Regions from separate parts of the Homo sapiens genome. Here regions 2, 3, 4, 5, 6 and 7 are each linked to region 1. Evidence: promoter capture Hi-C in 16 types of primary human blood cells and fetal thymus (Javierre and others, 2016). All regions are on one chromosome and are shown on one strand. The core of a region is centred on a gene start or on the middle of the fragment in contact, and the rest is flanking DNA. Distances in the headings are between cores, read along the strand shown.

The links. Contacts are between HindIII fragments. The CHiCAGO score rates a contact against its expected background, and 5 or more counts as called.
Region 2: a contact is called between a fragment that was not itself captured here and the fragment with the promoter of SRP14 in region 1, in 3 of 17 cell types (naive B cells, naive CD4 T cells and total B cells). The highest score is 9.1, in naive B cells.
Region 3: a contact is called between a fragment that was not itself captured here and the fragment with the promoter of SRP14 in region 1, in 6 of 17 cell types (naive B cells, total B cells, naive CD8 T cells and 3 more). The highest score is 5.8, in naive B cells.
Region 4: a contact is called between a fragment that was not itself captured here and the fragment with the promoter of SRP14 in region 1, in 1 of 17 cell types (total B cells). The highest score is 5.5, in total B cells.
Region 5: a fragment that was not itself captured here is called in contact with the fragment with the promoter of SRP14 in region 1 in 7 of 17 cell types (naive B cells, total B cells, activated CD4 T cells and 4 more); the score reaches 7.0 in naive B cells.
Region 6: a fragment that was not itself captured here is called in contact with the fragment with the promoter of SRP14 in region 1 in 10 of 17 cell types (naive B cells, total B cells, naive CD4 T cells and 7 more); the score reaches 13.3 in naive B cells.
Region 7: a fragment that was not itself captured here is called in contact with the fragment with the promoter of SRP14 in region 1 in 6 of 17 cell types (total B cells, naive CD4 T cells, naive B cells and 3 more); the score reaches 7.6 in total B cells.

What each region holds. Positions count from the first base shown.
Region 1 is chr15:40,037,931-40,042,279 of GRCh38, reverse strand. SRP14 (signal recognition particle 14) reads left to right here and starts at 3,099. Exons shown (of 5, transcript NM_003134.6): 1 at 3,099-3,187; 2 at 3,332-3,404; 3 at 3,886-3,998. The coding sequence starts at 3,164. It overlaps SRP14-DT (SRP14 divergent transcript), which reads right to left and starts at 2,969. Exons shown (of 3, transcript NR_040060.1): 1 at 2,832-2,969. It overlaps LOC124903471 (a long non-coding RNA gene), which reads right to left. Exons shown (of 2, transcript XR_007064596.1): 2 at 3,871-4,349. RefSeq lists a silencer at 2,896-3,105 and enhancers at 2,191-3,135, 3,186-3,365, 3,386-3,435, 3,136-4,081. The HindIII fragment of the contact is 8,433 bases long and covers 1-4,349 here.
Region 2 is chr15:40,429,836-40,434,184 of GRCh38, reverse strand. It overlaps a transcript of IVD not described here. Among named protein-coding and RNA genes, the nearest start is that of BAHD1, 8.9 kb to the left of the region's middle. The HindIII fragment of the contact is 2,091 bases long and covers 1,048-3,138 here.
Region 3 is chr15:40,408,537-40,412,885 of GRCh38, reverse strand. IVD (isovaleryl-CoA dehydrogenase) reads right to left here. Exons shown (of 12, transcript NM_002225.5): 4 at 2,089-2,258; 5 at 1,533-1,626; 6 at 1,195-1,331. Among named protein-coding and RNA genes, the nearest start is that of IVD, 4.9 kb to the right of the region's middle. The HindIII fragment of the contact is 6,098 bases long and covers 1-4,349 here.
Region 4 is chr15:40,393,256-40,397,604 of GRCh38, reverse strand. KNSTRN (kinetochore localized astrin (SPAG5) binding protein) reads right to left here. Exons shown (of 9, transcript NM_033286.4): 9 at 3,317-4,136. The coding sequence ends at 4,008. Among named protein-coding and RNA genes, the nearest start is that of IVD, 10 kb to the left of the region's middle. The HindIII fragment of the contact is 6,486 bases long and covers 1-4,349 here.
Region 5 is chr15:40,351,991-40,356,339 of GRCh38, reverse strand. It overlaps PHGR1 (proline, histidine and glycine rich 1), which reads right to left. Exons shown (of 4, transcript NM_001145643.2): 2 at 3,073-3,108; 3 at 1,988-1,995; 4 at 1-267. The coding sequence starts at 3,082. The coding sequence ends at 37. Among named protein-coding and RNA genes, the nearest start is that of PHGR1, 3.1 kb to the right of the region's middle. RefSeq lists an enhancer at 1,411-1,936. The HindIII fragment of the contact is 2,528 bases long and covers 1,059-3,586 here.
Region 6 is chr15:40,327,009-40,331,357 of GRCh38, reverse strand. No RefSeq gene overlaps it. Among named protein-coding and RNA genes, the nearest start is that of INAFM2, 5.5 kb to the right of the region's middle. The HindIII fragment of the contact is 158 bases long and covers 3,021-3,178 here.
Region 7 is chr15:40,298,848-40,303,196 of GRCh38, reverse strand. It overlaps PLCB2 (phospholipase C beta 2), which reads left to right. Exons shown (of 32, transcript NM_004573.3): 4 at 588-728; 5 at 848-927; 6 at 1,008-1,061; 7 at 1,165-1,240; 8 at 3,969-4,069; 9 at 4,233-4,349. Among named protein-coding and RNA genes, the nearest start is that of PLCB2, 6.9 kb to the left of the region's middle. RefSeq lists an enhancer at 280-1,089. The HindIII fragment of the contact is 7,575 bases long and covers 1-4,349 here.

The DNA of each region.
Region 1 (4,349 bases), core at 1,850-4,349:
TTGAGGAATTAAAATTTTAAAATTAATTTAAACATCTATATTTACCATATTAGAGCAAGCCTAAGGCTCTTACATATAGTATTTTATACAATCTTCATAATCTCAATGAAGTAAGCATTATTTTGTTACTTTGCTAGTGAAGAGACTTAGGCCTTGAGAGGTTGCCTGAGGCCACATAATCAATAAGTAGCAGACGTAGGATCTGAACCCCGATCACTTTGACTTCTGAATAGGTGCTCTTGGTCATTTCCCACAGAAAAACAAAGCCCAAAGAATATTCCATCAGTAGTTGAATTGCACTGGATCCAGTGCAATGCACGCATTCCATGTACTAGGACATAGACATCTCTGGGGGATCATCCAGCCTGCCACCGAGATTTTTGCAGAAGTCCAGATGCTAGTGTGATTGCAATCAGATTAAACTTTCAAGATAGCTAACAGGACTCATGCAGGTGTAGATGTGAAAATTAAAAGAAAAAGAACAGCTGGTGGCAGCGGCTCATGCCTATAGACCCAAGTACTTAGGAGGCTGAGGCTGGAGGATAGCTTGAGCCTGAGAGGTGGACGCTGCAGTGAGCCGAGATTGCACCACTGCACTCTAGCCTGGGTGACAGAGTGAGACCCTGCCTCAAAAAGAAAAAGGAATCTGGGATGATTCATGGTTGTTTTTATTTGAGTAACTGGTCAGACGGTGGTGCCATTTAATAAATAGCAAAGATGTGGGAAGTAAAAAGTTTTGATTTGGTCACGTAATATCTGAGATGCTCATTACACATCCAGGTGGAACTACCAAGTGGACAGCTGAATATGCAAGTTTGGAGCTCAATACAGAGGTAAAAGCTATAATTAAAAATTGGGGAGTCATCTTCGCACACCTCAAGACTAGCAAAGATTAGAACAGTCTGGTGAAAACCCCTCCTATAGGGCCGCCAACACAAGACCACTTTGTGATGGCACCATATGAATAACCTCTAGCATGCGTGTCCAACCTTTTGGCTTCCCTGGGCCACATTGAAAGAATCGTCCTGGGCCATATGTAAAACACACTAACACTAATGATAGCTGATGAGATAAAATTTTTTTAAAAAGGGCCCATGCATAATTTTCATGATATCTGCCAATACAGATGAGCAAAAACATCCTCACATTCAAATGACTGGACACCCATGCAAGAGCCCTGGGCCTTGGTATTACTAGCTCAGAAGTCAAAGTCCTGGTTGAGAGCACCAGATTGACCCACGTTAGGTCATATGCTTGAGCCCAGGTGCTGAGGGCAGTTGAGAGAGTGACCCTCTGACCCTTCTATTTATTTATTTATTGCCTCTCACCAAAACCCACACAACAGGGGATTGCAAACAGGTTCAAATGCTGGAGAACCAAAAGCCAATACAGGTTGGCTACACAAGGTCATCAGCCTAGGGCAGGAAGTGGGCAACGGGCGCTGGCCATTTGGAAGAAAATGTGAAATCAGAGAGTGAACATATTTAAGCCATTAAGTTTGAATCTCCTAACTGGGCTCCTCATTTCCTGCCCTGTCTCTCTACAGTGCATTCTCCACAACACAGACAGGGGGATCTTTAAAAAATATAAATCAGATTTTCAGTGTTCTGTTGAAAACTTCCTTAACGAGTCTTCTCTTTGTATCTAGAACAAAATCCAGGCTTACTATGGTCACGGGCCCTACATAATCTGGTCCCCAGCTACCTCTCCATACTCCTTTACTCCTTGCTCCACAAGCCCTCCTCACCCCCACCCGCACCTGCCAGTCTTACAGACACAGGGCAACTTGTTTCCCCTTTGAAGGTTTTGCTCTAGCCGTTCCCTGTGTCTGAAACACTGTGTCCCTAGATCTTTGGATGGCTGGTCCTTTCAGCTTTCAACTCAAAGTTCTCCTTTTCGACGAGAACTCCCCTGACCCCAACCCAGGCAGTCCCCTTCCCACTCTCATTATACAGCCCTGCTTAGGCTGTCTCACGGAATTCATTATCTGAAGCTGTACTACTTACTTGTTTGCTTCATTGTTTATTTCCTCCCTGCCCCTTTAACCCAACTTCCAGGAAACCAGGAACTTAGCTTTTCTTATCCTGCTGCATCCCCAACCTCTACAACCGTGCCTGGCACAGACTGAGAGGCACTCAGCGAAAACCTCTTGTGTGGTGGAATGCTTGACTTTATAGAGGGCCCAGGGTTCAAGTTGGCTAGTGGCAGAGAGGGCTTACAACCTAGTTCTCCTGACTAATCAGAGGTAGAACTAAAGACTGGGCTCCAGCCCCTCATTTTTTTTTTTTTTTTTTTTTTTTTTGAGACGGAGTCTCGCTCTGTCTTCCAGGCTGGAGTGCAGTGGCGCGATCTCAGCTCACTGCAAGCTCTGCCTCCTGGGTTCACGCCATTCTCCTGCCTCAGCCTCCCGAGTAGCTAGGATTACAGGTGCCCGCCACCACGCCCGGCTAACTTTTTTGTATTTTTAGTAGAGACAGCGTTTCACCGTGTTAGCCAGGATGGTCTCAATCTCCTGACCTCGTGATCCACCCGCCTCGGCCTCCCAAAGTGCCGGGATTACAGGCGTGAGCCACCACGCCCGGCCCAGCCCTTCTGGCTAGAGCTGCAGGTCAGCGTTTAGGGAGAGTTTAAAGGATCTCTACAGGAACTTATAATGACAATAATGAAAAGAACAATAGCTGATACCTACTGAACACGCTCTATGTGCCAGGCACTGTTCTACGTATTTAATCTGAGTTTCATTTACGCTTCACGACCACACTGCGCGGTAGATACTATCATTACCCTTACTTTATGGATAAGGAAACTGAGTCACTGAGTTGTTAGGTTACCTGCCCAGCATACAGCTGAATATAAATCGTACGCTGCTATCAAAACTTTCTTTTGCTCTCACTCCGTCACACTGGCTGGGGTGAGACGATTTCTCGCATGTGACGACCCAGGACAGCCCCAGCGCCTCCGGGTCACAGGCCCCCGGACGTCCCAGGGCGCGGGCGCTAGGCGGGCGGGGAGGGGGGAGGGCGCAGGCCGGGATTGGTGGAAGAGAAGAGATTGGTGGAAGACAATGGAAGTCTAGTAGCGGAAGTCCCGCCCAGCCTAGGCCGAACTTCCGGCTCTCACTGCTAGGGGCTTAAGCGGAGGGAGTCGAGCCAGCGTCGCCGCGATGGTGTTGTTGGAGAGCGAGCAGGTATGGCTAGGCCTGGCCGGCCGAGGGAAGGGGGCGGCTCAGGCGTTACTCGAGACCTGTGCCTCCTGCAGGAGGACCAGGGCCTTGACGCGGCAGGACGAGGATTTGGGGCTGGCTAACGGGGCTGGGCCTGTTGTTTTCCAGTTCCTGACGGAGCTGACCAGACTTTTCCAGAAGTGCCGGACGTCGGGCAGCGTCTATATCACCTTGAAGAAGTGTAAGCAGCGGGAGGGGAGCCGGGCGATGCTCCCTGGGTTCCCGGTGTCTGGGAGCCACCGGAGTCTGTCTGCCGCGGACCGCCGCCTTCCTCTACCTTTCCCCACCCTGTACTGAGCACATTCGGGGCTTCGGGCCCGGAAAATAGTAGGGATTGTAGCTGGCTCAGTCCCCAGCACTGAGCCGCCTAGGTTGCTTCTGGTAACAATGGGCCCCAAGCAGCCCAGGGCTCTTTGTCAGGGATCCCAGACGCCGCCACTTTGAGTGGAATTTAACGTGCTTCGATATTACATGTTTCCGTCGTGGAAATAATAGTTTCTCCAGGGTTTCGCCAGACCGTGATAGCAGATGAGGTGTTTAACAAAACTAGAGCAGCGGGGCTGGGTTAGGTCATCACTTACCCCACTCCTCTGTTTTAACTGTTTGTCTGCCGCTCAGCCACGTACGCGGCCGTGTTCACCAGGATGCATTTTTTCCTTCAGATGACGGTCGAACCAAACCCATTCCAAAGAAGGGTACTGTGGAGGGCTTTGAGCCCGCAGACAACAAGTGTCTGTTAAGAGCTACCGATGGGAAGAAGAAGATCAGCACTGTGGTGAGCTTAATTTCTAAGGCTGTCTTTTGAAATGTAAAGACTTGAACTTAACAGAGGATGGGGCGTTTCTGAACCAGGCTTTTATTTGTTTTTCCCTTTTGCCCTGTGTGGCTATTTTTGAGACCAGGACCTTCCTATACTTTAGTAGTGGAAACCTCAAGAATAAAATAAGAAGGTAGAGGTCAGACAGTCGTTAGTTCTGCTAAAGCTCTTGTGGAAATGAAAGTAGCATATTGGTCCTTATTCGTAGTACTGTAAGGAGCAGCTGGCATAAATATTTGATTCCTTAGCCCCTTACTGTGCTGGGCCTTCAATAAGCAGTTTCTTGGTACCAGGTGATGCTATTATTTC
Region 2 (4,349 bases), core at 844-3,343, 390 kb before region 1:
CACATTTTCACTTGCAACAGTAGGTTGGTACTAAGTAGCAAATGCAGTCTGTATGGGGTAGGCATGCTCCAGTTTACCATACTCCCACCTTGCCCATGTGGGGCATTTACGGGACCTGAACCCTGAAGGTTTTCAGGTGTGTGATCCTTGCCCTGCACTGTGGCCACAGAGACATGGATGGGTATCGTGGTGCAGCCCTTTGCAGTGTCTAGTTCACTGGAACCTACTCAGAGAGCCCTGTTGCATTCTCATGCCAATCTCTAATAGTACCTTCATTATTGCCCCAGGAGCAGATGTTTACTGAACACACTCCAAGATCCATGGACCCAGGCTGGAGACGAAAAGGGAAATTAAACATGGTCCAGAGTTTGTGGGCTCTTCTAGGTGACTCCTGAGAACATGGCATGATACCTGGCAAATAGTAGTTGCCTAATAATGCTTGGTGAACTGAATAGTAAACAATTGGTAAATAGAAACTGAATGGATAAATACACAGAGAGGGGAGAATTATTCCAAGAAACATGACATTTCTGTGATGATCTAGGTTTGGGTTGCTTGGGACCTCAGCTTCCAGGGTCACCTCCTTTACTGTTACCAGAACACTTGTCCGCTCAGATATCAACTTGGAGTATGACTTCTCCCCTGAGGAACTCCCAGTGCTGTGGACTGGAAGACCAGGGGTGCATCCACTATGTTGGTTCCTTTATTCCAGACGTACAGACCCCTGGGAAGATGAAGAAATCCAGATCTGGAATGGGCAGTGTATTGAGAGCCTCCAAAGCCGGCAGGAGGTCCAGAGGGGGCAGGTGTCTCTTACAGAAGGCATGAACAGGCACTCAACATACGTTTCTTTATTTAACCCTCAAGAACTCTGGTAGGTAAATGTACTCTCAAATTTACAAACAAATGAGGAAACTGAGACCTGGAGAATCTAAGTAACTGCCCAAGATCACATAGGCTTGGAGTGGCTCCAAAACCTTTGCTTTTTTTTTCATACGGCATTTAACATATAAAATAGAGGTCTAACCCTTTATATGTCTAAAAGCTTTCTTCTTTCTACATTTCACATAGCGTAGTGGTTAAGAATGCAGACTTTCTGAGTACAGTCCTGGCGCTACAGTGTCTTAAAACATATAAAGTACTTAGAATAGTACCTGATGTAGCCACAAGTGCCCCCAGAACATTAGCAATTGTGAATCTATTTCATCATGCCCAAATCTGGCCATGCCTGAAGCCTGCCCTGCTTCCATACTGGAATCAGTCTTCCACCTCTGTTTTGTACTCCTTGTCTCCCATCTGGAGCTCTGACAATGTAGTGCCTGTGGCTGTATTCTGTCCACCCAGCAGTGGGCCCCACTCTGGCTTCAGTCAGGCAGGATGGCTCCCTTTGCTGGGTTTGGAGGAGAGGCCAGCCCCTCTTCCCATGGCTTCTCCATTCCATCCTCCCAAGGCCAGGGCCCTAGCCATTTCCCTCTTCGGGAAAGATTCTCTGTGGCATCCCTAAGCACATTCCTCAAGGTGAGGTAGTTCCATCTCCTACAGGCTCTCAGCCACAGCCACTGACCTCTCTAGTCTTGCAAAACCCAGAGCAGAGGAGAGAATCACCTGTGGTTCTTTTGCCATCTTCACTTAACCTCAGTGAACCCACAGCAAGAGCCAGGACCAGCCCTTTCCAGCAGACACCCTCTGGGGGGACTACAGTCTGGGCCACAAGTATGGTGTTAACCAACCATGGTGCCACCTGTGCTCTGCACTGTGCAGGCACCAAGAAGACTTGGGAGGCCATGCAGACAGCATTGCTTCTGACCTAGGAAAGCTACTCCACCCAGCAGAGGCGTGATCCTCAGAAACTGAAGAGCACATCAAAGAGTGTATGACCTAAGCAAGACTGGGCCAGATGATTAGTAACTGGAAAAGTGACATCAAGACTTAGATATGATAGGCCAGGCGCAGTGGCTCACACCTGTAATTCCAGCACTTTGGGGGGCCGAGGTGGGCGGATCACTTGAGGCCAGGAGTTCAAGACCAGTCTGGCCAATGTGGCAAAACCCTGTCTCTACAGGTGTGGTGACACGCATCTGTAGTTCCAGCTACTCAGGAGGCTGAGGCATAAGAATCGCTTGAACCTGGGGGGTGGAGATTGCAGTGAGCCAAGATGGAACTATTGCACTCCAACCTGGGTGATGGAGTGAGAATCTATCTCAAAAAAAAAAAAAAAAGACTTAGATATGAGAGGCCTGACAATTTTTCCCCTTGATTTGTGAATATTATACTATATTTAAAAATCTAATAAGGGCATTTATAAAAATTACACTTAGTTATATAGACAACAACTCTTCTTTGTTGAAAGGGATTATGGGAAATCAGCAATTGCCTTTTTCATTGCTTCCCTCTGTCAGGGTGTATTCTGTGATAGGTAATGTTCCTGGAGAGATTCCATGAGTTAGGCACTGTGTTAAGCTCTTTACACATAATCTTTTTTTTTTTTTTGAGATGGAGTCTTGCTCTGTAGCCCAGGCTGGAGTGCAGTGGCGTGATCTCAGCTCACTGCAAGCTCTGCCTTCCAAGTTCACACCATTCTCCTGCCTCAGCCTCCCGAGTAGCTGGGACTACAGGCGCCCGCCACTGTGCCCAGCTAATTTTTTGTATTTTTAGTAGAGACGGGGTTTCACCATGTTAGCCAGGCTGGTCTCGGTCTCCTGACCTCGTGATCTGCCTGCCTCGGCCTCCCAAAGTGCTGGGATTACAGGCGTGAGCCACTGCGCCCGGCCTACACATACTCTTAATCCCCAGCCAGTCTTATGAAATAGATAGTGTTATTATTCTCATTTTACTAATGAGAAAACTGAGGCATAGAGAGGTTCGGTAACTTCCCAGGGTCACATTAATAATAGTGGAGCCGGCTGGGCACGGTGGCTCACACCTGTAATCCCAGGTCTCAGGGAGGCAGAGGTGGGAGGATAGCTTGAGCCCAGGAGTTCGAGACCTGTCTGGGCAATAAAGCGAGACCCCGTTCTCCACAAAAAGGAAGAAAAAAAAAGACAAAAAAAAAAAAAGCGTAATAATAGTGGAGCCAGGGTTTACATCCCAGCCTTGTCACTTTTAATGATTTCTCCATCACTTCTTCCTAAATAAGCTTCCCCAAACAATTCTCTACTCTTATGTTTTCCAAATGTCTGTTAGCAACTCATTCAAATTTTACACATGAAGTTGCTGTGAGCAACATTCATCTCACTGTTAGATTGGGGGCAAAATGTTGCAAGTCGATTGTCATATTTCTTTATAAAAAGATATTCCTTTGGCAAAGCCGTTATCAAAAGTACCCTTTCCCTGCCTTCTGCACTCTCTTTGACACTGAAACATCAATATGGTCTTTCAAGAACATCAGATACACTTCAGCCAACTTCCAACTACAAGCAAACTCAGTGTTCTCCCAATGTTTCCACTGTGGGGTGCACTGGCAGTTTTAAGAGTCAAGAACCTTGGACTCATCCTTGGCACCTCCCTCTCCCTCCCAAGCCGCCACCCATAGCTAATCCATCACCACAGCCTGTCATTTACTGGAGTCTCCAGCCTCGAATCTCCTCCCACCTCTGTGATCAACCACAGCCCAGCCTCCCGCATCCACTCTGCCCCAGTCAGAGGGATCTTTCCAAAATAGACTGCCTCATAGCACTCTCCTGCTTAAACCCTTCCGTGACTCCTGCTTACACTCAGCATAAAGATCCAAATCTGGAACTGACTATTGTTGCCGCCCCAGCCAGGAGGCTCCTCTGATCTCATCTCTCGGGCTCAGTCACACTCCGCAACCTGCAATGCTCTCCTCCTAGCAAGCCTGGCAAGCCGGTGATTCCTGGCTAAGATCTGCCTCCCCGGCTAGGCTAGGGTGAAAACCACATCTGCGTCTCCCTGGGTCCTCCTGTTTCTCCATGGCCCACAGGGTACCTGCACATGATAGGTTCTCAGTAACAGCTACTCAGTGATGAATGAATGGCAGAGAAATCAAGCCTTTGCCTGTGCCGCAGCGGCTCTGCACCCTGACTGCTCTGCCAGGTGGCCACAGTGCTAGACTTCCATATTAGCTTAGAAAACTACCTCTTGCAGCCACACTGCGTGCCAGGCTCTGCCTCCCTACCTTTAAACACACCCATCCTGACCCAGTTTGCCTGTTTTCAGGAGTGATCACCAACATTTGTACTTTTTGTGACTTGTACATATTTTTACTATAAAATGTCCTGACCTGATTCATTCAACAACTGGATAACAATTGGTTATGGGTTTGACAAGGAAGACTCATTGAAATCTGGAGGCATAAAAGTTACAGTTCTGGCTTCGGCAGTCCAGATGGC
Region 3 (4,349 bases), core at 227-2,726, 370 kb before region 1:
GTACCTGCACAGCATGGCAGCATCCTAGTCCCATGCTCCCCCCGGGACCTTCCGGTGCTAACGCCCCAGATTGATCCCAGCCTCCTCTGCCACTAGCTTGTGTTCTCCCCAGTTCTCATGGGGACACTTCTTTCTCAATGATATGCTCAGTTCCCTGAGCCCTCCCGACCCCCCTGGCCTTATTTCCCTCCCCCAGGGGACATTACTTCCAAGACACTGTCACCAGCCCGGTCAATTCCCTTATCCTCTGTTGTTCTCCTGTCTGTACCCAAAGGGATCCCACTAGGGCTGAACTGAGCCCTCTGTACTTTGACCTGGACTACTGGGTTGCAGCATGTTTTGGCAAGTGACCAGCAAAGTGCTGGCACATGCTGCCTTCAGCCTGTAATGAGGGTGGCATCACGCAACCTTGAGATTTCCAATCTCAGCCAGGTCCCTACTGCTCCAACCCTAGACAGCTACTTTCCCCCTCTCTATGGAGGGTACCGCAAACCTTTACAATACTCGCTCATGAAACTCTTGCCAACTCCCCCACTCGTGGCCCCAGCCTTCACAGGGCCCCTGGCTTCCTCCTCATGATCGTTAGGCAAGTGGTTCCTGCACCATCACCTGTAACCCATCCTTCTCTCTTCTGCCCCAGCTCACCATTGTGTTCTGCCCACTCATTCCCACACTTTTCAATTTCTCCCTCTATTTTCTTTTTTCTTCCCTTTTTTTTCCTTCTGACCAAAAAATCTGCTCAGTTCTCTCATTTCTAAAAACAAACCCAAACTCCTAACTTTTCATTGGAACTCCTGCTCTGCTTCCTTCTTGCTTCTGTTGTCAAGGCTGTTGCAGGGGCAGTCTCCACTTGCATCCCACCCACACCTCAGTCTCCCATGGCCACATTCATCAGATCCACCAATGGTACCCTGACCGTCATGTCCTGACCTCCTTTTAGTCCTCCCCTTTCTAGACCTCTTTGTGTGGCCTGGCGCTGAGGACGGCTCCACCGTCTTCAGAAGTGACCCATCTGCCCTGGACTTCCTGGACTTTTGGTCACCCTCCTTGCAGTCTGCTCTCTGCCTCACCCCCACCTCTGGGGGCCTTGCAGAGCACACAACACTGATTCCATTTGAGATCAGTGAACGGGCTATCTCTGGTACCACTGTCAGGAGGCAGAAGCCTCCTGGCCCTGCACCCACCTATACTCACCTTCTCCACAATGAAGGCTGTGATGCCCCGAGAAGCTGGCACAGCAGCCAGATCTGTCTTGGCATAGACAATCAGGACGTCAGCATCAGGGCCATTAGTGATCCAGAACTTGTTGCCATTCAGGATGTAGTGATTTCCTAAGGGCAGGATGTTGGCTATTTGCTCAAGCCATCTTGGCCTGTCTCAGCCAGGCCATAGACCTTCTGCTGAGCAAGAAGCTGTCCACCTTTGAGAAAGTTCTGGAAACCCAGCAGGGGCCACCCACAATTGTTGCTCCATTATCCTGATAATGTCTGTACCTCTGCCCATTTTGGCTCCCAAGTTGAGAGTGGCCTCACCTTTCTTTTCCGCTTTGAGCTTCATAGAGACAACATCAGAGCCTGCATTGGGCTCACTCATGGCCAGGGCTCCGATGTACTCACCACTGATCAGCTGCAAGGAAAACCCCCAACAGGCCTTGTTACAACCTCAGAGTACCCTAGAGCAGCTCACTGGTACTGCCTCTTCCTGTCCACATTAAACCCCTTCAAACTTCGCTCTCAGACCAGGGTGTCGGTAAAGTCCTAGAAGTCTCTTCTAAGCCCAATGGCTACAAGGCTGAAAATGCCTCTCCTTTTTCCATTCCCTTTGCAAAGGAAGCTAGTCCTACTCTTCCATTTCTTAGAGTTCTCTTCAAATGTTGTCTGTCTGTTGTTCAATGCAAGAGTTCTGGTCCTATTTTTATTATTTTTGGCTCAAGTATTTTAAAGCAATCCATGGCCCCTTCCTAACCACATTTGGTTCATGGCAGCATGCTACAGAAAGCAGGTCTGACTGGCCCCCAAGGGGAGAGGGTATCTTTTAGTTGGTGGTTGCACTGTGAGATTAGCGTGTATTACATTTCCATTTCCTCACCTTCGGGAGATACTTCTCTTTCTGGGCCTCATTCCCATTGCGTACAAGCTGGTTGATGCAGAGGTTGGAGTGGGCACCGTAACTGAGCCCCACTGCTCCGGAAGCTCGGGATATCTCCTCCATCACCAGCACATGCTCCAGGTAGCCCAGGCCGGAGCCGCCATACTGAACTGTGAGTGGTGTGGTACAAGGGAGTGGAAAACGCAGCCCAGATTAAATCGGGACATTCATTAAGAATCTTACATTTGACGGCAGAAGGGAAGCACCTTGTAGCACCTACTCCAAATTCTCTCTAGCAACAAGAATAAGCTGATGCCACAGACCTGCTTACAAGCTCAGTGGACTGGTTTTGCCTGCTGGTGCTCCTCAGCTGAGGGGTGATTCAGAAGGCAATCATTGCAACTTCTGCTTTATCCCAGACAGACTTCTTGATGAAGATACGTGAACAACCTGAGCACCCACTACTCAGAAAGTTACAGAAATGCAGAGGCAGATGAATAAATGAAGAAAGAGGGCCTGGAGAAAAACAAAGGCATTGGGGTGGAGGTGGTGTCCAAAGCACCAAGAACAGATACAAAGCCAGAGGATCTGATGTGTCTGCAAAAGGCCTGAGGAAGGTGAGATTTTATAGCATAGGGCTGAACCCAAAGAAGCAGGACTGGAGGCCAGGCATGGGGCTCACGCCTGTAATCCCAGCACTTTGGGAGGCTGAGGTGGGCAGATCACGAGGTCAGGAGATCAAGACCATCCTGGCTAACACGGTGAAACCCCGTCTCTACTAAAAATACAAAAAATTAGCCGGGCATGGTGGCGGGCGCCTGTAGTCCCAGCTACTCGGGAGGCTGAAGCAGGAGAATGGTGTGAACCTGGCAGGTGGAGCTTGCAGAGAGCCGAGATCGCGCCACTGCACTCCAGCCTGGGCGACAGAGTGAGATTCTGTCTCAAAAAAAAAAAAAAAAAAAGAAAGAAGCAGGACTGGTGACAGGACAGGAGAGCCACAGCCTCAGGGAAAATCTTGAGGTGAGCTGTACAGCAGAGGGCAGATGAGATGCTGGCAGAGAATTTCAGAACTCCTCATAAAATATACGGTTTTTCCTTGGCAGCAGATCCAAACTCCAAGTGGCTGAGACACCTGATACCACCCCCAGCCCTGCTGATTGGGTCAAGCCTAGCAAGGTCCTATACACATGTTCACTCTGACCAATAAGTCAGGCTCGTTCTAGGCTCTAAGGAAACCTTGACCTGCCCCTACAACTGCAGGAAGGAAAGCCTGAAGGCAGGTGACATTAGAAACAGCCACCATGACATCATGCAGAAACCAGAACTTGTAACCAGCTTTCTTTTTCAGGTTCCCTTGAAAGAGTTTTCATCTGATTTCTTTTCTTTTTTTTTTTCAAGAGGCGGGCTCTCACTCTCTTATCCAGGCTGGGGTGCAATGGTGTAACCATGGCTCATTGCAGCCTTGAACTCCTGGGCTCAAGCGATCCTCCTGCCTTGGCCTCCCGAGTCACTCGGATTATAGGAGCCCACTACCACACCTGGCCATTTTCATCTGATTTCTAACTGCCTCTTTCTTCCGTAAAATACAATCTGATTCAGAAGCATATTGTCTGCAGGGAGTGGGGTACATAAACCCCCAAAACACAGTAGGAGAGTCTTGCTTAGGAGTACCCAGCAGCCTTTCCCCTAATGCTTTTACATTAAGATGGTTTCAATTAATCTTCAAGTGGTTTCATTTTATGAAAGGTGATATAACTTTCTAGGATGTAAGGAGAAGTATATTGGGTTCCACTCATACTCTCATGCCCAGAGTGAATACAGGCCCAAGCAGGCTGGGCTTTTTTTTTTGAAACGGAGTTTCGCTCCGTTGCCCAGGCTGGAGTGCAGTGGCACAATCTCAGCTCACTGCAACCTCCGCCTCCCAGGTTCAAGCAATTCTCCTGCCTCAGCCTCCCGAGTAGCTGGGATTACAGGGATGTACCACCATGACCAGCTAATTTTGTATTTTTAGTAGAGACAGAGTTTCTCCATGTTGGTCAGGCTGGTCTCGAACTCACGACCGCAGGTGATCCACCTGCCTCGGCCTCCCAAAGTGCTGGGATTACAGGTGTGAGCAACCACGCCTGGCCTAGGCTCATCTCTTTACCGGGCACTGCAAGCCAGTCTGGGCCTCTTTCAGACGTTAATATCATCCAAACCAGAGCCTGCTAGCTCCCTGCCTTCTCCCTCCGGACAGCCTATTAAACACATCATCTGGCCAC
Region 4 (4,349 bases), core at 1,133-3,632, 360 kb before region 1:
CAGTTGGCTGAGCCCAGAAATTCGAGGTTACAGTGAGCTATTATTGTGTATTATTGTGCCTCTGAACTCCGGCCTGGGCAACAGAGCAAGATGCTGTCTTTTTTTTTTTTTTTTTTTTTTTTTTGAGTCAGGAGTATCACCATGTTGCCCAGGCTGGTCAAGAACTTCTGGCCTAAAGCTATACTCTGGCCTTGGTCCGTCTCTTAAAAAAAAAAAAAGGGGAGCTGGGCTTGGTGGCTCAAGCCTGTAATCCCAGCACCTTGGGAGGCCGAGGCAGGCGGATCGTATGAGCTGAGGTGTTGGAGAACAGCTTGGGCAACATGGCAAGACCTCATCTCTACAAAAAATACAAAAATTAGCTGGGTGTGGTTGTGTGTGCCTGTAGTCCCAGTTACTTGGGGGGCTGAGGCAGGAGGATCACTTGAGCCCAGGAGGTCCAGGCTGCAGTGAGCCAAGATGGCACCACTGCACTCCAGCCTGGATGACAGAAACCCTCTCTCTCTCTCAAAAAAAGTATATACTATGAGTCCATTTATATGAAATTCTTGAAAGGACAATACTAATGGATGTGATTTTGTAGAGTAGTGCTCACTTCCACAGCAGCAACAGTAACTTATGAACCTGTACACTTAAGGTTAGTGCACTTTAAGCCTCAAATTAAAAAAAAAAAACAAACTGGTTAAAGTTTGCCATTTCAACTATTTTATTTATTTATTTATTTATTTATTTATTTATTTATTTAGAGATGGAGTCTTGCTCTTGTCACCCAGGCTGGAGTGCAGTGGCACGATCTTGGCTCACTGCAACCTCCGCCTCCCGGGTTCAAGCGATTCTCCTGCCTCAGCCACCCAAGTAGCTGCGACTATAGGCACCCGCCACCACAACCGGCTAATTTTTGTATTTTTAGTAGAGACAGGGTTTCACCATGTTGGCCAGGCCGCTCAAACTCCTGACCTCAGGTAATCCACCCACCTTGGCCTCCCAAAGTGCTGGGATTACAGGTGTGAGCCACCGCACCCGGCCTCAACCATTTTAAAGTGTACAATTCAGTGGCATTAGGTATATGCACAATGTTATGCAACCACCACCACTTTCCATTTCCAGAATGTCATCATCCCAAAGAGAAACTCCCCTCCCCTCCTGCTCAGTCCCTGGTAATCTATATTCTACTTTGGATGGATTTGCCTACTGTAGCTACATCACATTAGTGTTTCTGTGTACTTTGAAGCCAGATTGGCAGAGAAAGAAAAATGGTAAGGAAATAGCTTCTTGAGATATTTGGCTGTGAATATAGTATATGTGGTAGCTGGAGGGGATAAGGGTGGGGTTTTGGCTTTATGTTTTAAGATGGTTGCAATTTGAACTTAAGAGTCAAAGTTGAGAGTTCCCAAGTCAGAAGGAAGTTGAATAACTGAGGCCTGCAAAGGCATGGTAAGATCAGCGACTGTGTTTTGGGGTGGGGAGAAGGGGGCACTGGAATAGAAGTTTGGGGTGAATTTATGAAGGGAATCTTTTGCCAGGATAAGTTTTAAACTTTAATAATATCACCACCAGGATTTGAGTACCTTTGCCAGGCACTGGGTTAGGTACTGGACATAATTCTCTTTTATAACCACCCAGCAAGACAGGTATTATTGGTATGAACTTATTCATACTTTTTTCTTTTTTGAGACAGAGTCTTGTTCTGTCACCCAGGCTGGAGTGCAATGGTGCCATCTCGGCTCACCGCAACCTCCGCCTTCTGGGTTCAAGAGATTCTCCTGCCTCAGCCTCCCGAGTAGCTGGGACTACAAGTGTGTGCCACCACACCCAGCTAATTTTTGTATTTTTAGTAGAGACAGGGTTTCATCATGATGGTCAGGCTGATCTCTAACTCCTGACATCGTGATCCACCCACTTCAGCCTCCCGAAGTGTCAGGATTACAGGCATGAGCCACTGCACCCAGCCTGTTCATACCAGTTTTATTGGTATGAACTCAGTTTGAGAGAATTTGCCAAAGACCAGTTTTTAGTGGATAGGCTCAAAATATTTGAAACATAACCAACTTTGTGAATGTCTGTATGAGAAGGCAAACAATTTTGGCCCTTTAAGCTCAGGTTGGAGTGTTACTGGCTTCACTGAGTGTCTCTGGGCAGCCTTAAAGATGCTGAAGGGTGGGGGTGGGAGGGTTTGGAGAAGAAATTAGGAGGTGCAGAAAGAACAGGAGATGGCCAAAGTCAGCCTAGTTTGGTTAAGAAAAAAATTTGGCCATGCCTTTGGTAAACCGGGGGGAGGCCTGTCATGGACTTCAGGCCATGTACTAAAGGATCTATTGGACCAGGCCTAGGATTGGCTGTGCAAAGCAAACAGCAGGCAGATAATCATGCTTAAGAGTGCAGGGAGGGCTGGGCGTGGTGGCTCACGCCTGTAATCCCAGCATTTTGGGAGGCTGAGGTGGGTGGCTTACTTGAGGTCAGGGGTTAGAGGCCAGCCTGGCCAACTGGGCAAAACCCCACCCGACTCTACTAAAAATACAAAAATGGCAGGGTGTGGTGGCTCATGCCTGGCCTCAGCACTTTGGGAGGCTGAGGCGGGCGGATCACTTAAGGTCAGGAGTTGGCCAACATGGTGAAACCACGCCTCTACTAAAAATACAAAAATTAGCTGGGTGTGGTGGTGGGGGGTGGGGTGCCTGTAATCCCAGCTACTCAGGAGAATTGCTTGAACCCAGACAGCGGAGGTTGTGGTGAGCAGAGATCGCACCACTGTGCTGGGCGATAGAGTAAGCAAGACTCTGTCTCAAAAAAAAAAAAAAAAAAAAAGGCCGGGTGCAGTGGCTCACACCTGTAACCCCAGCACTTTGGGAGGTCGAGGCGGGCGGATCATGAGGTCAGTAGATCGAGACCATCCTGGCTAACATGGTGAAACCCTGTCTCTACTAAAAATACTAAAAATTAGCAAGGCGTGGTGACATGCCCCTGTAGTCCCAGCTACTTGGGAGGCTGAGGCAGGAGAACTGCTTAAACCTGGGAGGTGGAGGTTGCAGTGAGCCGAGATCACGCCACTGCACTCCAGCCTAGGCAACAGAGTGAGACTGTGTCTCAGAAAAAAAAAAAAAAAAAGAGTGCAGGGAAAACATGGGCAGCAAGTGGCCACAGACCTGGTGAAACCACTGCTACAAATGGGCAACACCCTCAGGAGACTAGCCAATGCTCTTGGGAGACAGAGGGACTAGCCACAGGACTCTTAAAGAGTAGCAGAAAAATATTCTAGATTAAGTCAGAATATCTTGGACTTGTTAACTAAATTAGTTCAATAATGATCAACTGACATATCTAGGTTAAAAGGCTATTTTCATTCCTCAATGTTACAGTCAGAATATTTACAGAAGTATTTATTTTAAAAGTAGACTTAAAAAAGAAAAGTAATTTAGATTAAAAGATCCAAGGTGTATTGTTTCATGTAGGTGTTACTGCTACCTATACTTTCACCCCATTTATTAAGCCCAAAACACTTCAAGCAACTTCAGGTTCATAAATTAATAAGGAGGTACAGAAGCCCAACCAGGATGGGAAAGAATGTGTTTCAGGTTAGAAGGGGACAGCATGGCTCCTCAATGATGTCTTGTATGGAACATTTGTGCTCCACTGTAATGAAGATTTTCTTCCTGAAAATCTGAATGTGACATTTTAGATCCTCTGGTTGTTGGTTTAGTCTCCCGATTGTAATGGTGTGCTGAAGTCAGGTGGTTGACTAGAAGGTCAATCCAAGCTCCTAGGCTCCCCTCTCTTGTAGGCCTCAATTATCCACCTGTGAGGCTCAGGAGGGCTGACCAACCTGAAGGTTGGGAAAACTTGCTTAAATGAGGAATTGCCATTTCAGCATAAACTGTCCTTAAGTCTACTGTAGAAATTGTTTTCATTCTGGAGATGGTGAGTCCCAGAAGATCATGGCCAAGATGATGTCCTAAGTAGCTTCCTCTGAGATTTTATGCCCAAGAGGGAGCCATCTGGCCACTTGCTTCTTCTTACATTTCTAATAGCTGCTCCATTTCCTTAAGGGCTGTTGTTAAATCATTTACTTGATTGTTACATAAGGTTTGCTGTTCTAGGAATCGGACTCTTTCCTCTTTCATCTCCAGCTTTACCTTTAAGGCCTGCATGGAAAGACATTCCAAAAGAAAACAACACATACACAAAACTCTTGACTAACAGGAAACACAATTCCCACATCAGAACATTATGCTCCTATTCCACTAAGGAAGACCACTGGAGTATCAACAGACTGTATCTTCTATTTTAGATTTTATTTCTATGCACTGGTTTTAGGAATTGTCCCTCTAGTAGTAGAGAGGGACTAGACTCCTGTA
Region 5 (4,349 bases), core at 1,073-3,572, 310 kb before region 1:
GGCTTGCCATCTTGTGTCCTGTTTTCTTCTACTTCCTCAGTGATGTGGACCAGGGGGTGGGTGACCTGGGCCATGGCCAGGGGGAGGCCCGCAGGGCCCTGGACCATGGTGGGGGGGTGGCCCGCAGGGCCCTGGGCCATGGCCAGGGGGTGGCCCGCAGGGCCCTGGACCATGGTGGGGGGGTGGCCCGCAGGGCCCTGGGCCATGGCCAGGGGGTGGCCCGCAGTGACCTGGAGGATGGCCATGCCCCCCACAGTGGCAGTGCCCCTGTGGAAAGTCAAATGAACAATGTCAGAGTCAGAGGTCAGGGCTAAGCTTACCTGAGATCAGCTCTCCCTCACTCCACTTCCCTGGGGGACTCAGGATTTCTAGGCAAGTAAGGAGTTGCGGTGGAGGGCTGGGGGCATGGGTAGCATGTCCCGTGCCTTTTGCCTTGGTGAGGCCAGAACACTGAGCAGATAAAAGGCAAGCAACCTAGATTTATTGGTTTCTATTCTTTGAGCCAAGATATGACTCCCGCTCCCTGTACCTCGATTTATTTTATTTGCAACTAAGAAGCAGAATTATTTCATCTTCTCCTTTCTCTCACCCAGGAACCCTTGCAGAGTGATTAGAGGCTTTGCCATGCTAGGAACTGCAGGCTCATTGTACTTAGGAGCAAGGGTGAGGCTAGAGGAGGCTACAGAAGAGCTCTTTGAAGGCCAGGGGCAGGGGGAGACAGGAGGCTGGGTCAGGGGAGATGAAAGAGCTGAGGAGGGGAAGAAGGAAGACAGTTGGAGGATGAGAAGACACGGAGGGTAGGAGGTGGCAAGGTGAGGATGTATGTATTCTTTTTATAGGTAGTGTGTATGTGTGTAGACGGTGTGTGCCATATTTATATAAAATAGCTATGTTTGTGTACGTGTGCATGGGTGGGTTCATATTCAAGCTTGGTATGTACACAGATACGTGCATGGAGTGCATGGTTCTGTGTACATGAGTATGTGCGAGCTCATACCTGTTCCTGAGCGGATGCCAGACCCAAGAAATCAGGAAGAATAGAAAGTAAAATCAAAGCTTTTCTGCCTCAGTCAGAAGAGGTCTGGAAAAAGTGTGGTTTAACCTTCCATCTTGGCTGGAATCATTCCTGAAGTCCCAAGGCCAGGGGAGTTTTTTGTTTTTTTTTTGTTTTTTTAACTTTTTGCCACAAGCCCAGGGGGCAGGCAAGAGATACCACCTTGCTTCTGTGGTAGGGGACTCGGGGTCTGGGGCCCTGTGGAGCAGGGCGGGGCTATGCTCCCACTGTCTGGGCTGGATAACTCCCCAGTCTCCTTCTGCCTCCTAGGGCTTGATTAGGGCTTGGTACCAGTGGGGAAGAGGCAGGCTCCAGGGCTGGGCGCTTTCCTGTGACCATGGTAGAGCAGCCCCTGCCCCATCCAGGCTCAGTGATGCCTGGAAACAGCCACTTCCCACCCCACCTGCCTCTCTGCCTATGGCTCTTTTGTTTGGGGGTTGGCACACAGACCAGGCCTAGGAACTGAGTCTGCTGGTGGTAGCCAGTGGGTGAGAAGAGGTGGAGGAGACGCAGTCTCCTTTCTCTGGCAGGAGTAGGTCCTAGGGGCCCCATAGTGTGGTTGGAGTTTGGGAGCAAGCCAGCTATCCAGCAAGGCTGTGGGGGTAGCCAGGAAAGCAGAAAAGCATAGCACAGGCGGGGAAGCAGCAGGAGAGAGGATGGGCTGCTAGGGCAGGGAGGGGACGTGAGGAAAGGAGAGAGACAGATGGGAAAACAGAGGAGAGAACGCCAAGAAGGCTGCAGCCAGCAGGGGGTGGAGGAGTGCAGCGCTGCCCACCCCACCCCCACTCCACGGGGCTGCTGCCTGAGCCTGCTCCCTTCTTTTCATTTGGGGGAAGTGGTGGCTGCTCCCTGAGGGTCTAGGAAGGAGGCTAGGGGTCTGGAGGACATGACAGTGGGAGGAAAAAGGGGAGACCATTGGGGGAACTTTCCTACCTTCGGACCTGTGGGAGAGGAAGGGAAAAAAAAGAAGCAGCTTTGGTCATTTGGTTCTGCAGTAAAAAAAAACCTGTCTTCTCCCTGGCACTAAGGATTTTGTGCCCACACCCCTAACCCAACAGGGCCTCTCAGACATGGTCACTTGCCTGACAATCATTCCTTCATTCATTCTCTCAGCAAAGATACATATTGGAAGTCAATATAAGGTTCAGCAGTGTGTCCCTGTGTGCTCAAGGGCTGGCTGAGTCCTCCTGGGTGGAGTGGCGCCAGTTAGGAGGTATGGGTTCTTGTCTCAACTCTGTCAGCCTGGAGGTGCTCCATGGTGGCCAACCCTGTCATCCACCTGATTCTTGCTTCTACCTCCAGGCCAGCAGCCCTGCCAACCTCCCCATCTGTCCTCTGCCCCTGTCACGCCCCACGTATCTCGGCCCAATCTCTGCTCAGCCTCTCAGAGCTGTTTGTTGTCTCCTGTTTATGACCTTCTGTTCTCAGCTCTTGGCCTTTGCTCATGCCTCCTCCCACTTGGAAATCTCCCTGGAGCAGCTGCGTGTTGCCCTCATGCAGGAAATCCACATGGGAGCCATCCAGGCTGCCCAGCTGTGGGTCCACTGGGCTCCTGCAGCACCCACCTGAGTGGTCCTGCATGTTCTGAAGTGCCCCATTGGTGTGGGAATCACCTGCTACTTCTTAAAGGCTAGGACGGTCTTTTGTTCATTTCGAGGGAAGCCGATGGCACAGCTCCCAAGAACTGGATTCTGGATTCCGACCCAGCTGCACCTCTATGGCCTTTCCCTGAGCATAACCCCTAGCTCCCCTGGGCCTTGAGTGTGCGGTGGGAGAAGCACCTACCCTTAGAAGCACCTAAGAACATGATGAGTAAGCATGCTTTTTAAACTGTAACATGTTCTACAGTATGTAAGGGCTTGTCTTCATTGTGGACCCCTACCACTGCCTTCATACAAACACACACGCACGTACATTTTTGGCACGCACTAGTTATGGCTGACTGATAGTCCCTGCCTTTACCGCTCTCCTGCTCTCTCCCTTCTTCCAATTCCCAGCCTCTCAGCCACAGTGCTTACCTGGGTCCATCTTTTTGGAGTAAGAGCAGGGAATACCTGTGTTCAAAAGGTAACTTTTAATTTACTGTAATCTAAATTGCAGTCTTTCCTTTCTCCCTCCCACGGATGCGCGCGCGCGCGCACACACACACACACACACACACACACACACACACACCCTTCAAAGGAAGAAAGGGAAAAAACTGCTCCCTCCGGCTTAGCTTGGCCCCAATATAGAGCTGGCACTGTAGGTGCCAGGCATGGGGGTTAAATGGACACAGCGGGTTCACCTACATGGTGGGTAGATGGAGACACAACAGCACCATGTACCAGCCCCTACACCCCATACTCTTACACTTGCCCCCCTAGACTCAACAATTGTGTGTTAATCCGATTCCTCTTGGGAAGATTTCAATATCCGTTCATTTGCTAATTATTCATGTTGTGTGTCTGCCCTGTGCCAGGTCATGGTATGCTTGTCCCTACAGACTCTTGTCTTGTGTAAACATCTGGCATGGCATGGGAGCAGGAAGCTTGGAGCTATCAGTGTGCCCAGTGCAGGGACGGGAAGGATGGTTTGCTAGGACAGGAATGGGGTTGGTGGCCCCTGAGGGCACAAGTGAATGGATTTTTGCCCTGGGGCTCAAGTGAATGGAAAGCCTTCCATGGGGTCCTAGCTGCTTGTACCTGTCTCCTCCCACCAGGATTGGAAGGGGGTGGGAGCTTGGAGTCTGAGCCAACTTGTCATTCACCAACAAGCCGTGCTGTCATGAGATGGAGCTGCTGAGGTAACGTGGTGCCAAGGCTGGCCATGTCTTGCTTGGGGCTGGCAAGTCACAATGGACAACCCCAGAATGGGCCCAGTGAACATACAGTACATTCATTTTTTTTCAACCCTCAAATGGGAGTGTAGTATGTGACGTCAGGAGCAAATACTTGACATCAGGGCTTTCTGGTACTTACAAGTTTGCTGAGCATACAAAAACAAACAGCGCCCCCAATACAACAACCCTAGCCTCTTGCAAGACACAGCCCCCTGAACCTCTTTTTTTTCTAGGGAGCCTTAGTGCCTCTTTAAAAGTTTTTTTGAGACAGTCTCACTTTGTCATACAGGCTGGAGTGCAGTGGCGTGATCACAGCTCACTGAAGCCTCGACCTCCAGGGTTCAAGCAATCCTCCCACCTTAACCTCTGGAGTAGCTGGGACTATAGGTATGTGCCACCACACCCAGCTAATTAAAAAAATTTTTTTTGGCTGGGCACAGCGGCTCATGCCTGTAATCCCAGCACTTTGGGAGG
Region 6 (4,349 bases), core at 1,850-4,349, 290 kb before region 1:
CAGAGAAACAAGGAACCGTCTGTAAAGATTATCCGGCCCACCAGGTGAGCTTCCTTCAGTCCCATGGGGGTCCAGTGGAGTCTCAGCCTCGAGCAGTGCCCCTGCTTTACCAAGGAGTGTTCTTTGACCTCCCCTACTGGCTCCATCACACTTACCCCCCTTCACCCTGCACGCTGCGCTGCGCTTGCAGCTCACAGGGGTTCCTCCTCTCTTCTGTCTACCTCAATAGCAATCTCACACTCACATCACAGTTTTCTGCTTATTTTCCCCAGAAACAAACCCCCTTGAGGAGTTTGCTCTGTGTGTCCCAGAGTTGTTTTGTCACCCAAAGGAGCAGCATGACTAGCGTTTGCTATGGTCAAGGGACAGGAACTGGGGATCCTTGGAAGCAGGAGAGCTTAGCTTATCTAACAAGGCACAAGTTTGGAAGGTTGCACCACAGTCACCTCCAGCCCCGACCCTGTCAGGGACGAGAACAACAGGAAAAGATCGCACTCACCCCCCAAAACAAGAAGGAACTGTCAAAAATCCTAATACAGCCACATTTTCTTATTTTAGGGACTAAATCAAGGGGAGGGGCCAAGGGAATAGAACTAGACACCATGTCACTTCCATCTTGAGTCACTTATCCATGTCCACACACCCCACACACATCTCTGAGCAAGGGTTATCAGGGCTCATGAGGAAGGGTTGACAGGGGTTGACCACAACCCCACCAAAGTGGGAGAACTCAAGGCTGGGAGAGGGAAGGAGAGCAGCCAGCAGAAAGCATGGACTGCAGCTGCTTTCTCTCAAGTCTGCTGGGCCTTACGTCACAGCTGCTCATTAAGCACCCACTTGACGCCGGGGAAGTGAAATAGCACAGACCTGGCACCAGAAAGAACAAATGTGGCACCCACTGCTCCTTTTAAGGACTGGCTCAAGAAGCAGCAGGCCTCAGGGCAGGAGGTGAGGCAAACACAGCAGTACCTTCGCGGGAGAGGGAGGGGACTCGTTCAGGGCTGCCTCCTTTTTAACAAGCTCTCCAGGGCAAGTTCTGTGGCAACTGTCAAAAATAATGGACAATGCAGCCTTTTTCCCTTTTCTTATAAGCACTAGGGACACTATTTCCTCTTCCCCCAGCAGGACTGCTGTCTTTAACCAAGAGAAAGGGTCAAAAGGCACCTCGATGACCATCTGTCAAAACAGAAATACCCTACCCCTAAGTTACAGCATCAGAGGAAAAGGGTGGGCCAGTGGTTCTGACTTCAGTGTGCATCAGCATCACCTGGAAGGCTGGTTAAAACAGAATGCCGGGCTTCGCTTTCTGAATTTCTTCTTCAGTTGGTCTGGGATGCGGCCTAAGCTGTCATTGTTCTAACACATTCCCGGGTGACGCTGATGCTGCTAGTCTAGACACTGGTGTAATGTTTACCACCTACCCCTTCACATTTCTTTCTGTGCATCATATTGCCCAAGGGACAGACATTCCCTTGAAAATATATTACTTCATGTGTACACGTTGTACTTTTACTCCCAAGATCTCAAAGCCCTTTCATATCTATAACCTCCATTTGCTCTCAGGAATTCCCATTTGGTTAGCAGAAAAGAGAGAGGTCAAGGGCCTTAACTAATGCCATTGTTGAGTCCCCAGGCTTCCCATCTTCCAGTTCAGGGGTCCCTCCCAAGAACACACAGTCTCCCTGCCCAGGGCCTTGTGATGCCGTGAGCTGTCTATACCTCTAAGCCTGACTGCTGTGACTCTACACCATCCAGGATACCAGCAAGGAGCTGAGGGAGCAGGTGGGCCTCCAGGACACAAGTGTGGGGAGACCTCAACTAATGACTCTGAACACTGAGGTAGCAGAGAAAGGTATACGTATGTCAAAGGAAATCCTTGGTAATCAATGCAATTGCTTTTTTTTGGACAAGTTGGTTTTTGGAGTTTTGAGGCTTACTTAGCACACTGTAGACACCAAATAAAGACCTAAACTAAACTAAAGTTCTTGAATTAAAGGTAATGGTTTGTGGAAAATATCCCTAAGGATATTGGCTAAAATCTTATTGCTATTTAACTGATAAGCTATTGCAAAAACAGAATACTGAAGTTAAGAAAACAGGATAGTTTGACAAGGGGAGACTTGCGGGCATGACTGTAAATTCCTTGAGAGTGATTTTCTGGTCCTTTAGTGGTAGCTTAACAAATGTTTATAGAATTGAATGGGGCACAGGATCCAGTGAGGAGCACTGACCAGGTGGCTCCCATGCTGGGTATTTCTGCATTTAGGGTGGAAAGCCTGGTAGAGTCTAGGTGAGGGGTAAAGAGAAGTTTGTTTGCTTTTTCAGTTAGCTACTGGAGGGGACAAAAAGCATAACACAGGCTTTCTGGCAGCAGAAAACCACAGGCTATGTCAGCAAGTAAAACAGAGGTAACCAAAAAAACTGTCGACAGAGCAGATATTTTTATAGCTTAACATGAGGCTGCAGGGCTGGGACCTAGGAGACAATGAATGGATCACATATCCTATGGTGTGTCCGTTAAGCACCATATGGAATACCACTGTGGACTTGCGGCACCCGGAAAGAACAGGAAGGCCAAGGCCGAGTCCTTCAACTTGGAAATAAAAAAACTGAGGCTAGAGAGATCAGTGCAGCTATGATTTGCAGGGGTTTTCTTTAGCAACCCACCTCCTTGAACCAGATTATGGGCTGTGGATACGGGTATGCAAGTAGATTATGACAGGGACACCACAATGACACTAAGGCTGATTCCATCAGCACCCAGCACCCACTGGGTGCTGATCAACTCAGAGATCAACAAATTCTGAGTACCCACTGCCAGGCACTGAGTGAGTACTGGTCATGAGAAACAGGCAAAGCCACTGCAGTTTCTCCTTCCACTGAGGGAGATGGAAAACGAAAAGTATAGCTGTGGCCCTTTTGTTACTGAACTGAAATTCCAGAAATACCTCCATTCTCTGTAGACAGGAAAGAGAGGACAATTATTACCCCTTTTACATAGCTGTGGTAGTCCTAAAGCTTGTGACCTGACCTTTCAGCTCTCCTTAAAGAAACATGTAGAAACAAGTAGATGCTATGCATTCAGCATTTCAAGACAGGATATAAATACTCCACGAAAGAACACGCTATCTCAGAATTCCCCAGTGAAAACTGAAAAAACAAGGTAGACAGAAAAGCTTCCAAAACATGGTCTCATACCATGTGGAAATCTAGGGCTGTTAGGAAGAGAAATATTTCTTATGCTTAAAACCTCAGAGAAACACTTCATTGTACCTTAACATTAATGGGGAAAGTGAAGATACCCTCACAAACTCAGCCTAATGGGTTCCTTCCCTGATCCTCCACCCCCCAAAACTTCACTTTCAAAACAGGCTTATCTCTTTCTTCAAGTTCAGGCCGTCAGGGAATAAATGAATGCACACCGTTAACTTCTAATATAAGCAAACACCTAGAAAGGGTCCTGGTAGTCCCGGTGCAAAGCCTTTGAAGGAAAGTAACCCCCTCTGCACAGATCTCTCCTTCCTGGCTTAAAACTTGATGGACAATTTTGCAGCTGATTTCTAACCCTTGGAAATAAAGCTATTCAGACCACTGCTCCTCAGCCAACCAGGCCCTGTCTCGTCGGCTAGCAGGCTCCCACTGTACATATTGCTGTATGTGCCCAACATGTGAAGCCGCCGTGGGCAGCTGTAGAAGCCACATGTCACTGTCTGCAAAAAGGAGGGGCCGACCAAAAGAGCCTTGGAAACTCTTTCACTCCCCTTCTGCTCTACCTTACCAAGCCCTCTCTCAGAAAGCCATTGTGTAGGCTGAAGAGGGAAATAAAAGAAGGGCAGACTTTTTCCATGCCTCCCTGCAGACTACAAGGTAATGTAAAAGAACAGTAGCTACCCCCCAACGGCTCTGCTGAAGTGCAGGCCTCAGGGGGCCCCACCAACACTGGCTTCTCACTCCGGATTTGTACCGGGCAGTATTGTCTAATAATGAGCTGAGCTCAATTGCTTACCATATATTTTGCAGCATAACTAATCCCTTATATTTGTGCCTTTCACCCACATGTCTTTTTTGTTTGCTTGAAGGGAAGAAAAAAACCTCACCTTTGAAGCAACCTAAACCTCTCAGCCATTTACCTCCTCCATGGTAGACAAAGCTCTGACCAAGCACCACAGATGTACACTTGCCTTTCTGGTGTTAGCACTTCTTGAGTTATCTAGAGGCCAATGGTTGAAAGGTGAGGACAGTGATGCTATCAGGCAGCTTATCCTCACCTCAGTGCTTAGCCAGCTAAATGTTTGCAGTAAATCTTAATATTCATGCTTACTGGTCCCTTAGCTTTGTCAGCTAGGCAT
Region 7 (4,349 bases), core at 1-2,500, 260 kb before region 1:
TTCTGAAGCACGGGGAATGGTTCCTTGGCTGGGCAGCAAGGACCGTGGCTGGAAGCCAAGGAAGGGGAGCGGCAGCTCCTGGGCTCGCCTGGGCTCTGAGCTTCAGAACTGCGCACAGTGAGCTGAGATGGCAGGGATCTGGGAGGAGGGGTCACCTCCTGCCCCTAAAGCACCCCAGTCTGTCTGGGAGGGGTGGCTTACACCCCCACCCCCGGACTAGTTTGCCTATATTTGCCTAATGCTGGTAGGAAAATTGGAGGAAGGGATTGGTGGGAAGCGGGGTTTCCTGAGACTGGGAGCTAAGAATCTATCTTCAAACAAAAGTGGCAACCAACACACACAGGACTCCCAGGCCGGCCTCCCCGCCTGCCCGCCATCTTGGCTAACCTTTTCCTCAGGGCCTCTCCTTCCCATCCCAGCCGCTGGAGTCAGGGACAGGAAGATGCTAAGGCCTGTGGTTCCTGGGATGGGGATGGGGTTCTGCCCAGTGGGCCATAGCCCAAGTGGCTGAGGGGAGGGCCAGAGAGAGCCACACTGGGCAGGGAGGGAGCACACCTCCATCCTAACCATACCACCACGTGCTGCAGAGCCAGAAGCTCCGGGACGTCTTCAACATGGACTTTCCTGATAACAGTTTCCTGCTGAAGACACTCACGGTGGTGTCCGGCCCGGACATGGTGGACCTCACCTTCCACAACTTCGTCTCCTACAAGGAGAACGTGGGCAAGGTGTGCCAGGGAGCACTGGGCCTGGGTCTGGGCCCCTGGGATAGCCTGGACTTCCTGAGAGACACAGGCCTGGGCGGGGGTGCTCAGGAGCCTGACCGCTGCTCTCTGTGGTCCTGCAGGCCTGGGCTGAGGACGTACTGGCCCTAGTCAAACATCCGCTGACGGCCAACGCCTCCCGCAGCACCTTCCTGGACAAGATGTAAGTGCCCTCTGCCTGGCCTGAGCCCTGGTGCTGAGCATGCCAGCCCTGGGCCTTGACGGGCTGCTTTCTGCCCCCAGCCTTGTGAAGCTCAAGATGCAGCTCAACTCTGAAGGGAAGATTCCGGTGAAGAAGTGAGCCCCCCAACCCCTCCCCAGGCTTCCAGGGGCTCCCCAAAGCCTTTCTTTCTCAGGCCTGACTCCTCTCTGTACCTGGTACCTTTCTCTGCCCCTTCAGCTTTTTCCAGATGTTTCCTGCTGACCGCAAGCGGGTGGAAGCTGCTCTCAGTGCCTGCCACCTCCCCAAAGGCAAAGTGAGTGGATCTGCACCCCTGCCCATCCCCCAGCATTCTTGTCCCCACCAGAAAGCAACTTGGCCAGGAATGGTGGGTGGGGGAGCAGAGGTGACATCACAGCCCCAGCCAAGAGCCTGGAGAGCCAATCAACCCTGGAGCTGCTGGTTACTGACACTAGGCACAGGGGTGGAGCCAGGGCAAGGGAGTGAGACCCTGAGCTCCAAGCAGGTTTGTCTGTATCCCCTACCCTGGGTGGTGGGGGCGCTGGGGCTGTGGTTGATGGACTGTGTTCAGGGCAGGCAGCAGAAACGGCATGCATTCCCAGTCTAGTGTTGGGAATGGGAGCTGAGCGTGAATGTTTTCAGCCTGGAGGAGCGAGATAAGGTCGGCAGTGGCAGGCGGCAGTCTGCAGGGATCTGGAAGTCTGCAGCGTGTCGAGGGAGAGGAACTGAACCAAAGGCGGAAGCTGCCAAGATGCAGACTTCTGCTCTGTACAGAAAAGCATTTTTCCCTGTCTTTTTAGTTAAATAATTAATTTTTAATTACAAGTTGTAAGCAGGGTCACCCCATGAAGCAACTTGTGTGAATTACAAAAAGGAGCCCTCTGGGCTGATATGGCCCTGAGCTAGGCTTCAAGCCTGGCCAATGGAGCGAATCTCAGCCCCTGTCCCTGCTTGGCCAGTGCTCTTGTGTGGGTCCCAGCCTATACCCCATGGAGTATTTTCTCCTGGTAAGAATTTGGAACGTTATAAATAAATAAAACCACGACCCCCATTGATCACCTGCCCACATGAATCCCAGGAGGAGCATTTACCCCACAGCCACAGCTCTGCAGAGTTGGTGACTCCTTGATGCAGTCAGTCACAGGGATCCAAATGTGGCGTTGGGGAGAGGTAGGAATGGGCTCCTGCGGCTCCCCTACAGCCAGCAACACTTACCTGTGGTCAGCACACATCCACCCTCCCTCTCTCCTGCTGCCTGAGCTCCTCCCTTGGCTAAGTCCTCCTTATCTATCTGCTTTCCTTGTGTCTCAGTAGAGGCTACTGACCCAACTTTGCTTGGAGCTGAAGCTCCAGAGACAGGGAGGGGTTTGGGGAGATCCAGTTAGACTCTCCTGCTCAGACCCTCTGCTCCAAACTAAGACTGATGTTGGCCTTCCAGTGTGATTCTGAAAGACATTTAATGTTTTTTTTGGGGGGGGAAGGAATGCAAAGGTGCAGAATCCCTGAATACCACAAATGTACTTTTCATTTCTATTTCTATAGATTTGCCTATTCTGGTGGTAAAGTAAATGAAATCATAAATATATGCTTTTCGATGTCAGGCTGTATTCATTTCTCATAATGTTTTCAAGGTTTATCCATGTTGTAGCATGCATGAGTACTTCATTCCTTTTTACCACCTAATAATATTCCATTGTATGGATATACCACATTTTGTTCATCTGTTTATCAGTTGGTAGATGTTTGGGTTTTTTGTACTTTTTGGTTATGAATATTCATGTACATGATTTTGTGTGAACATGTGTAAATTCTCTTGGGTATATACCCAGGGGTGGAATTGTTGGGTCATGTGGTCACTCTATATTTAACAATTTGAGAAACCGCCAAACTGTTTTCTAAAGTGAGAGCATTGTGTAGGGATTTATTTATTTATTTTTGAGACAGAGTCTCACTCTGTTGCCCGGGCTGGAGTGCAGTGGCGTGATCTCAGTTCACTGCAACCTCTGCCTCCCAGGTTCAAGCAATTCTCCTGCCTCAGCCTCCCAAGTAGCTGGGATTACAAGCATGTGCCACCATGCTGGGCTAATTTTTGTATTTTTAGTAGAGATGGGGTTTCACCATGTTGGCCAGGCTGGTCTCGAACTCCTGACCTCAGGTGATCCACCCTCCTCGGCCTCCCAAAGTGCTGTGTGGGGTTTTAGGTTAGTCACATCCCGCTGACACTTGTGATTGTCTGTTTTTTGTTTTAGCCATCCTAGTGGGAGTGGTATCTCATTGTGGTTTTGATTTGCATGTCTCTAACTACAAATTATATTGAGCACCTTTTCTGTGTTTATTAGTCACTTATATATCTTCTTTGGAGAAATACCTGTCCAAATCCATTGTCCATCTTTCAACTGGGTTGTCTTTTTGTTGACTTATCTCTTATCGGATATCTGATTTGCAAATATTTTATCCCATTCTGTGGGTTACCTTTTCACTTTCTTGATGGTGTCCTTTGAAGCACAAAAGTTTTTAATTTTGATGACGTTTAATTTATCTTTCTTTGTCCCGGTGCTTTTGGTGTCTCCAAATATTATTGTTGAATTGTCCTCCTTTCAATTCTATCAGTTTTTGTTTTATATATTATGGGGTTCTGTTGTTAGGTGCATATATGTTTATATTCAAATTGCTTCTTTTTGAATATTTGTCCTCCACTTAAAAAAGATAGCCTACTAGCCTGGCAAGCAGCATCATTTCTTCTGACCTCTTTTCTACCTCATTCTGGTTATTCTTAGTTCCGATCCTGCCCCAGCCAATGGAATAGCCACTGTACAAAATCAGGGTCAGAGCAAACCAGCTAAGCATGCTCTCTGCTCAGCAACCAGGGCCTTGAGAAGTGGATGCTTGGGTGTCCTTGAAGTTCTTCTGTCTGCCTTGAGCCCGCCTTCTGACCAGGTCCCCTTGACCAGGGCTGGGCCGAGTTTGTGGTTCTTAGCTCTGAGAAGGTGAGGGCAGGGGCAATAAGGTTACTATGCCCCTAGAATGACGCCATCAATCCTGAGGACTTCCCAGAACCTGTCTACAAGAGTTTCCTCATGAGCCTCTGTCCTCGGCCAGAAATAGATGAGATCTTCACTTCTTAGTGAGTTTCTTGGGTTGTGCTGGTCATGGGAAAAGGGTGGTGGCTAACAATCCCCTCCTCCCACCTGCCATGCCGGGAGTCAGGAGGCTTCACTGGACAAGGGGGTTGTCTAAGCCTCCAGGCCCAAGGGATATGGACCTGTGCTCTTCTCTCTGGCTTGAAGCCATGCTAAGGCCAAACCCTACATGACGAAGGAGCACCTGACCAAATTCATCAACCAGAAACAGCGGGACTCCCGGCTTAACTCCCTGCTGTTCCCGCCAGCACGGCCTGACCAGGT